Linked DNA regions of Homo sapiens: region 1 is linked to region 2. The links are contacts of gene promoters, found by promoter capture Hi-C in blood cells and fetal thymus (Javierre and others, 2016). All regions are on one chromosome and are shown on one strand. The core of a region is centred on a gene start or on the middle of the fragment in contact, and the rest is flanking DNA. Distances in the headings are between cores, read along the strand shown. Region 1 has its middle 130 kb from the start of CYYR1. Region 2 holds the start of JAM2 (junctional adhesion molecule 2).

Region 1 (4,049 bases), core at 1,390-3,889, 1.1 Mb before region 2:
GGAGCATCCTAACTAGTACACACGTTATGAGAGCCAAGAGACAAGCTGTGCATATATTAAGCTTGACATGTTAAAAGAGTCTACTTTTGGATAAGTTAAACTCAACATGTTAAACTTTTCCACTTAGACAACACATTCTCTCATCTAAATGTGTAAGTCAGGTAGAGTTTAAAAGAGAAAGCTAGCTAGAGAGAAAAATTAGGACTTGACATCTTTTTTGATTGTATGTACTCTCTGACAATAGATGAGTCTACCTTGCGCTACAAAGTCTGTCATAGATGAATCTAACTTGTGCTACAAAATGCTGAATAAAATATTGCAAATATTGTTGAAAAGAAGGGCTAATTTCTGAGAAGGCCAGGGAAATACCTAGGAGGCAAACACAGATGCATCCTGTCGCTGCCCTGGCAGTGAGCTTGCCAGTTTCAGTAACAACAGGGCTTAGTCTGGAAAACCACACAGGAACAAAAGAGAAGGCTATGAAGATGGTAAAGTGAGTTGAAAATAAAACCCAAAATTGCATAATGCAATGATCCTCAAAAAGCTTCCCCTCATGGAACACATGGATTAGGAGAAAAATATGTAACAACAAGAAATCTTGCCTGTCTCTAATGGGTCTTGGGGGAGGGAGGGATCTCACCTGAGAATTTATAATCACTATATTGTGGATTTAGGGATATGAATTTACTAAACTAAGAAATTTGGGAAATTAACATAAAAATTGTTTCTGGCGGATGATACACTTGAGTACCTGACACACCCTCCATTCTGGCAGCAGAGAATTCTCACTGATAAAGCCAGGATGAAGATAATTTCTCAATCCAAAATTAAAAATAGCAGGGGAAACATGGTGAGTTTTGTAGTCTCAAGGAAGACAATAACCTAAGTGTTTTCACCTTGGAAAGGTACTTTGCAATGTCATGTTAAGTTGATTAGTAAACTTGAATGCACACATATTCTACAACCTGTTAATTCTTCTCACTAGAGTAATGCCTAAGAAAATTTACAAGAACTTTTTTTGCAGCATGGTTTGTTTTCATACAGCAAAATTAATAACAACCTGTATATTATTCTAGAGGAGAAAGCATAAGTATATTATCACAAATTCAAACAATAGAAAACTATACAGCAGTGGAAAATGAGTAAGCCAGAGATAGATAGATAGATAGATAGATAGATAGATAGATAGATATCATCATCATCATGGAAAAAAATCACAAAAACATATTGTTAAGTGAACAAAGGAAGCTGCAGAAGAATGCCATTTACATGAGATTTAAGAACTGTGTAATATCCCTACAATATAGTTGATATAGTTTGGATATGTGTCCCCACCCAAATCTCATGTTGAATTGTAATCCCCAGTATTGGAGGTGAGGCCTGGTGGGAGGTGATTGGATCATGTGGGTGGATTTCTTGTAAGTGGTTTAGCACCAGCTCCTTGGTGCTCTCCTCACAGTGGTGAGTGAGTTGTTGAGAGATCTGGTTGCTTAAAAGTGTAGAGCACCTTGCTCTAACTCTCTCTTGCTTCTTCTTTTGCCATGTGATGTGCCTGCTCCTGCTTCACCTTCTGCCATGAGTAAGTGCTCCCTGAGACCTCCCCAGAAGCCAAGTGATGTTGGTGCCATGCTTATACAGCCTACAGAACTACAAGCCAATTAAACCTCCTCTGTAAAAAATGTAAATTATCCAATCTCAGGTATTTCTTCATAGCAATGCAATAATGGCCTAATACACCCTATGTCTTATTTATTAATACCTTGATAATAAGCAGTAGATACAAATTCAGAATATCACGGATACCTTGGAATGGGATTTGGGGGCTAGAGAGGGGTTTATTTTAACCAGTTATTTTACTTTTAAAAATTGTGAAACAAATTTCCCAAAGTTTTGGGATTTGACAAAAGTGGATAGGAATTACACAAGTTACTACTAAATTTTCTCTATATTTTTCTTATTGTCTAAAGTGTGTATGATAGTGACAAAGAAATGCTGAATGGAACAAAAGAGAGTAGACACTGTGGGTATAGACAATCCTTTGACAGCATTTGGCTATAAAGGAATGGAGAAAATTTGTATTGGAAAGATAGGCATCAAAGGAAAGTTTATCTTTTAGTTTTGTTTTAATTTTTAATGTTGGTGATAGTGCAGGTTATGTGCCTCCTAAAGAAAATTATCCAGCTGAGAGGGAGAATTTAAAGATGCATGATCAAGACATAATAACTCGAGAGTTAAAGTCCCTGAGGAGAGGAGAGGCAGAGTGTCCCAGGACACTTGTGAAGATCTGGCCTTTAGTAGAAGAAGAGAAACTAGGTTAATTAGCCTGGGCAAGGCCCCAGTCATAATTACAAAAATGTATAAAATTATCTTTGTGACTGAGGTCTGAAATATGAGATTCAAAATCCATTGTTGTAACACAAAATGGAAACATAGAGTTATTTTCATATGTTACAACTACATCTCATTTAAATGATTTTACTAGAACATGAAATTTGGAGAGTACGGGTCTATGTCCTGACCTCTTTTATTCAGAAAACCAGACTTTAGTAGGTAAATTTCATTCAATCATGGTTTAGCTACCCTGAAGGCAGAGGCATGACTACTTAGAATTTTATTATTGTGAAATGTCAGTGTACAAAGCATAATAGAAAATGACACCTCATAACAAAGGATTCTAGGTAATTTTATGCTTTATTTTTCCCCAAAAGCAGCATGAATACCATGTCTCTAAGTTAAAGCACAGCTGTACTGATGTAAGATGGTGGGCAGGATGCTGAAAGACATCATCTTGTCATGATTTCCCTGTAATGATCTTTCTTCTCAGAGATAATTCAATAGTTACAATCCCATTGTCTGTCAAGTAGAAATATATTCCCCTTAAGTAGCCATAATTTTATTATCTTCCCTGTGAATCAATTCTTCAGAATGTTGCTTCTCTCAGAAATGTTTTCTAGTAATCCTACCATTTCACAGCTCATTTGCACCTTTGCAAGAAACATGCATGTTGGAATTGAATGGAAAAGGAAATTAAAATTAATCCTTTTATGTTGGAATCAGTGTTGTGATGTGTTAGATTCGTGGAAGAAAGATTTGTTGGGATGGAGTTCAAAGATCTTGGTAAAGTAGTATCATTCCTGTTCCCTGAATATCCAGTAATTAAGTTGGCTTACTCCCCTCCCCTAATATTGAAAAGAGAATTTCAAAGCAATAGGTAACAAAGGTCAAAATGGATATACAGCAGGGCCAGAAATAATACATCATTTCCACAATATCCATGTGTGGTAGGTAAAATAATGGTCCCCACAGACATCCATGTCACAATCCCCAGACATGGGAATATGTTACAAGAAAAAGAGGACTTCGGTATTAAGGTAGGGATCTTGAGATGGGGAAAGTATCCTGGATTATCTGGGTGAGTCCATTCAATTCACAAGACTTCCATGTGAATTGTAAAATGGTCTCTGAATTGGACCCTCCCTTATAAAAGGGAGGCTGAAGGGTCAAGTTCAGAGAATGAGGTGTGATGATTAAAGCAGAGGTCAGAGTGTGTAAGGGCCCATGAGCCATGGAATGGGGGTAGCTTTGAGAGGCTGAAGAAGGCAAGAGAACAGATTCCCCCCTAGATCCTCCAGAAGGAACACAACCCTGTAACCATTATAGACTTCTAGCCCCCAGAACTGTAAGATAATAAATTTGTGTCATTTTAAGCTATCAAATTTGTAGTAATTTGTTACACCAGCAATGGGAAACCCATACAACATGTATAAAGATCTCAACACAATGCATCACACATAGCACTGTTTTCATTATTGTTATTGTCTAGTATTTTTCTTACTCTTCTTTGGGCTTGCTCTATATATTTAGTTAATTTGCCATTATTTAATTCTAGGCATTGTGTGAAAATGAACTTTCTATTCTATTGTTATGATTTTCAGTTATGGAATCTGAAATAAAATCGTGAATACACTACCATGTTTCAGAAATTATTAGAAATAGAAGGCAACTGCATGCCTTGAAGATTGTCTTTGTGTTGCAAGTGAGAGTTTTTA
Region 2 (3,907 bases), core at 621-3,120:
TCAGAATTGCACAAGGGTTTCATTGTGAAACTTTGGCTTTCTGGTTTGACTTTATATAATATTGGTCAGTACATGTCCCTTGCCTGAGACAATGTGCACCTTCCTCCTCCACAAAGGGACGTGGCTCACATCACTTGAGCTGTGCGATGATCACTTGGGCAGCGAGGGCGTGAGAAAATATCATTGTATTGTGGTATTAGACACTCGTCCCGCAGGTTAAGTATTATAAGTGTTACTTTACCAGAACGTGAATAGCAACAATAACTCATTTTACAAAAGAAAGAAAGAGAGACAGAAAGAAAGAGAGAGAGAAAGAAAGAAGAAAGAGAAAGGAAGGGAGGAAGGAAGGAAGGGAAAAAAGCAAAACAAAAAAGGTGAGAGAAAAAAGAAAAAGCAAAAGTAGAACTGCATTGCTTAGTCTATTGTAATTTCCTCCATTTTCCTAAAAAGTTAACGCGAAGAAAACAAAATAACGGCAACGTTCCCAGGATTTCAAATCTCATGAGTCCAGAATCCGTGAAAATCCTGTTTAAAATCATCCGGTGAAATTGGCTTTGGGACGTCTCCCCAGCTACTGGATCATGTGGCTTCTGAATCTTTCTAACAATCGTCCCGTTGGATGTCCCCTGAGGACAGAGCAGCTGGCTAGAGTCCCCAGACCAGACTTCTCTAAGTGAATGTAGATGTGCAGGTGGAGAGGATAAAAGTAATTCTGGCTCAGCAGCCACGAATTCCCTCCACCTCCGCCCCACAAGTGCGCTGCATATCGCCGGCTCAGCTGGGACGCTACAGAGCCCAGACCACGCGGACGCTGCCCCCTCCCCGGGGACTCAAAGTGTGGCCGGCGCCCGCCTCCCAGTGATGCCATCTTTCTTGGGGTCTTAGCATCTTACCAGTGGGTAGTGAGTTTTGCATTCGAATCACGTCCCTCTGTCTGAAAACTTACCCCAACTTTGCAAACAGATGAGAACCTGCTAGTGGGAACCCTTAATTTTCTGTATCTAGAACTGACAAAATCAGACGCAATTCACAAGAAACCCACGACCTCGCGCTCCCTTGCTCCCAGCGTCCGCTCGCGGGCACCCTGGGTTTCCCGCTCGCCTGGGCGCAAGGTCAGACGCCCCGCGGCGACCTCGGCCCAGAGCCGCCCAGACACTGTCAGCCAGCGCCCCGTGGGGGGCTGGAGGGTGGGGGCAGGCTGGTCCAGGCAGGAAGGGTAGAGGAACCCGAGCAACTTACAGCCCAGGGCGACCACCAGGTAGCGCAGCAGCAGCAGGAGGAGGCGGTGGCGGCTCCTCCTCGCCATCTTCCCGGGGCGGCAGCCGGCTGCTCTGAGGAGGTCGAGGGTCCCGGCGGCAGGAGCGCAGGAGGCCGGGGGCCCTTGAACTTCTGGGGCGGGAAAGGAGCAGAGAGTCGGGAGGGGAGGAAGAGGAGGGACGGCTCTAGATGGGATGTCAGTTTCCCCCTCCCCGGGGCGCCTTCTCAGCTGGCTGCCAAGAGGCGGGTCCTCCAGCCCAGGGATGGGGGTCTGTTCTGTTTTGGGGGTGTGGGGGTAGGGGCTAGAGGGCGTGAAAACCAGACGAGGCGTCCGCCGGGTCCTAGCGAGGGGGCAGCAGGAGGAGAGCAGCGCCCGGGAAAGCCCCGGCGGGTCGTCCCTCCGCCCCCACGCCTCCGGGATTGATCGGCTTTGTGTCTGGTCCGCGCGGGGCTGCCAGCTGTCCCCAGGGCGAGGAGCTGGGGGCGGGAGGCGCGGGCAGGCTGGGGGTGGGGGGATTGGGTGTCTCGGGGACGGGGATGTATGCGGGTAGGGAAACGCCTCCTGTTTTGCCCCAACTCCTTTCTTCCCCTCGTTGGCTCAAAACTTCTTTCTGGCTTTTCAGCCTAGGGGTGGAGATATTTGGAAAATTCTGCCCAACGGGCGAAGCTGAGGGGGTGGCGCTCTGAGGAGATGGGGTTCGCGGGCTCCGCCTCGAACTCGAGAAAAAAAAAAGCAATCAAGACTCGTGCTGGAAGTCAGGTCTCAGATTTTAGTACAGCCTTGGTCCCTTCTCAGTTTAAGCTTTTTGCTCCTTGGAGATTTGAGGTGCATTTGTCTCGCGTTCTTGTTCTTTGCTTTTTTTTCAGTGTCAGAGTTGGAAGTTCATCTAATGGTGTGAAATATTTATCATGTTTCTTTCAAGTTACATAACTGCTGCTTGTGGAGTTTTCCACGTGTTAAAACTCTACAGCTGCCCTTTGTCAGGTTTATTTTTGGTCTACTGTGCTTTTAAAAGGGAAACCCATTATGAATGCTCTGTTGCGTGCTTTAAAATTGCACCACACTTACATTGGACGCACGTACACTGGCAATTTTTATATTTGTTCCTAGGGACCAAAAATGTATGGTGTATTCAAGAGTATTGGCAGGTCTGGAAAAAGGCCATTCCCAGGAGAAGAAATTAGTATACATCAGTTTTTTTCTTTTGTTTTTTTGTTTGTTTTTGTTTTTGTTTTTTTTTAAAGGTTGAATAATGGATGAAGTTCTGTACAGCAGATAGTTGATTTAGTGGTGTATTTAAAAAGAATTCAGCTAGCTCAGTGGACAAAGGCGACCAGAGTTTAGCTGTGCAGAACTGTGAGGAATGAGGCATCCTTGCTGTTGCCGTGGTGACAGTGATGAAAACTTAGTACCCAGGGAGGGGGTGGGAGGAGAGGACCCAGGGGACCCAGAAAGGAAAGTCAAAATGGCAAAATGTTAAAACTCGTACTCCAGTCAACCGAGGAGAAGGGGCACAGATTTAACAACAGCTTATGCCAGTTTTTCTGGGCAGTAATGAGAAGGATTTGATGCTTAAAAAGAAAAGTTGTTGGCATCTTCTTTTTTCTAATTCTTGCTACAGCTATATGTCTTTTACTCCTCCCTAAAAATATACACAAAAATGTCATACTTAAAAAAATTCTATGCAATCCTATGTGAGTAACTGACTAAGTTATTTATTTGCCACCCAGCCAAGGCATTTGACAAATGGCAACAATGTGCTGGATGCTGAAGGACAACCATGAACAAGATAGAGGCTTTCTTGCTAACAAGCTCACAGTCTTGAGGGGAGACAGAGTCTTATCAGGAAAGATGCCTGATACCACATGGTAAATGTTACAGGAGGACAGAAAATAATAACAGCTATTTTTATTGCATGCTTTCTCAGTGATGGAGTCTGAATAACGCAATATCTAATCCCCCAACAACTCCATAAAAGAGGAAATGTTATCATTCCCACTTTGCAGATGAGAAAACTGGGCGGAGAGACACTAAATGGCTTGTCCAAGGTCCATGATAAGGGGCTGTTCCTTTTGTTGGGAGTGGGGCCAGGGCTTTCTTTATTAAACCTTGAAAAATGGGTCAAATTCTGAAGGGAAGGACATAAAGGAGAGGCATTCTACATAGAGGAAACAGCAGGATCCAGAGCTAGGAGATTGAAAAATTATGGTTTATTTAGAAAAAGCAAGGTTCTACAGTACTAAAGTGTATGTGGGATCGGGATAGTGAGGTAGGTGGTGGTGGTGGTAGAAACTGAAGGGGAGGTTAGAGTACGAAGAGCATTCACGCTACTGTCTAGACCTCATCCTACAGCTAATGAGCTTTTTGAAAGCAATGAGATAAGAAAAGACTCATATTTTAGAACTGTGGTGTCCAATATGGTAGCCTATAGATCTAAGTGGCTATATACATTTTTTTTGTTTTGTTTTTAATTTGAGACAGAGTCTCACTTTGTCACACAGGCTGGAGTACAGTGGTGCAATCTCAGCTCACTGCAACCTCCGCCTCCCAGGTTCAAGTGATTCTCCTGCCTCAGCCTCCTCAGTCCAGTAGATGGGACTACAGGCATGTGCCACCATGCAGGCTAATTTTTGTATTTTTTGTAGAGAT

Evidence for each region. The method cuts DNA at HindIII sites, captures the fragments that hold promoters and counts their contacts. A CHiCAGO score of 5 or more calls a contact.
Region 1: a fragment that was not itself captured here is called in contact with the fragment with the promoter of JAM2 in region 2 in 1 of 17 cell types (non-activated CD4 T cells); the score reaches 5.1 in non-activated CD4 T cells.

The regions. Positions count from the first base shown.
Region 1 is chr21:26,703,812-26,707,860 of GRCh38, reverse strand. No RefSeq gene overlaps it. Among named protein-coding and RNA genes, the nearest start is that of CYYR1, 130 kb to the right of the region's middle. The HindIII fragment of the contact is 4,185 bases long and covers 547-4,049 here.
Region 2 is chr21:25,637,221-25,641,127 of GRCh38, reverse strand. It overlaps JAM2 (junctional adhesion molecule 2), which reads right to left and starts at 1,870. Exons shown (of 10, transcript NM_021219.4): 1 at 1,240-1,870. The coding sequence starts at 1,306. RefSeq lists enhancers at 888-957, 860-1,360, 2,098-2,237 and a silencer at 1,688-1,877. The HindIII fragment of the contact is 2,383 bases long and covers 1-2,061 here.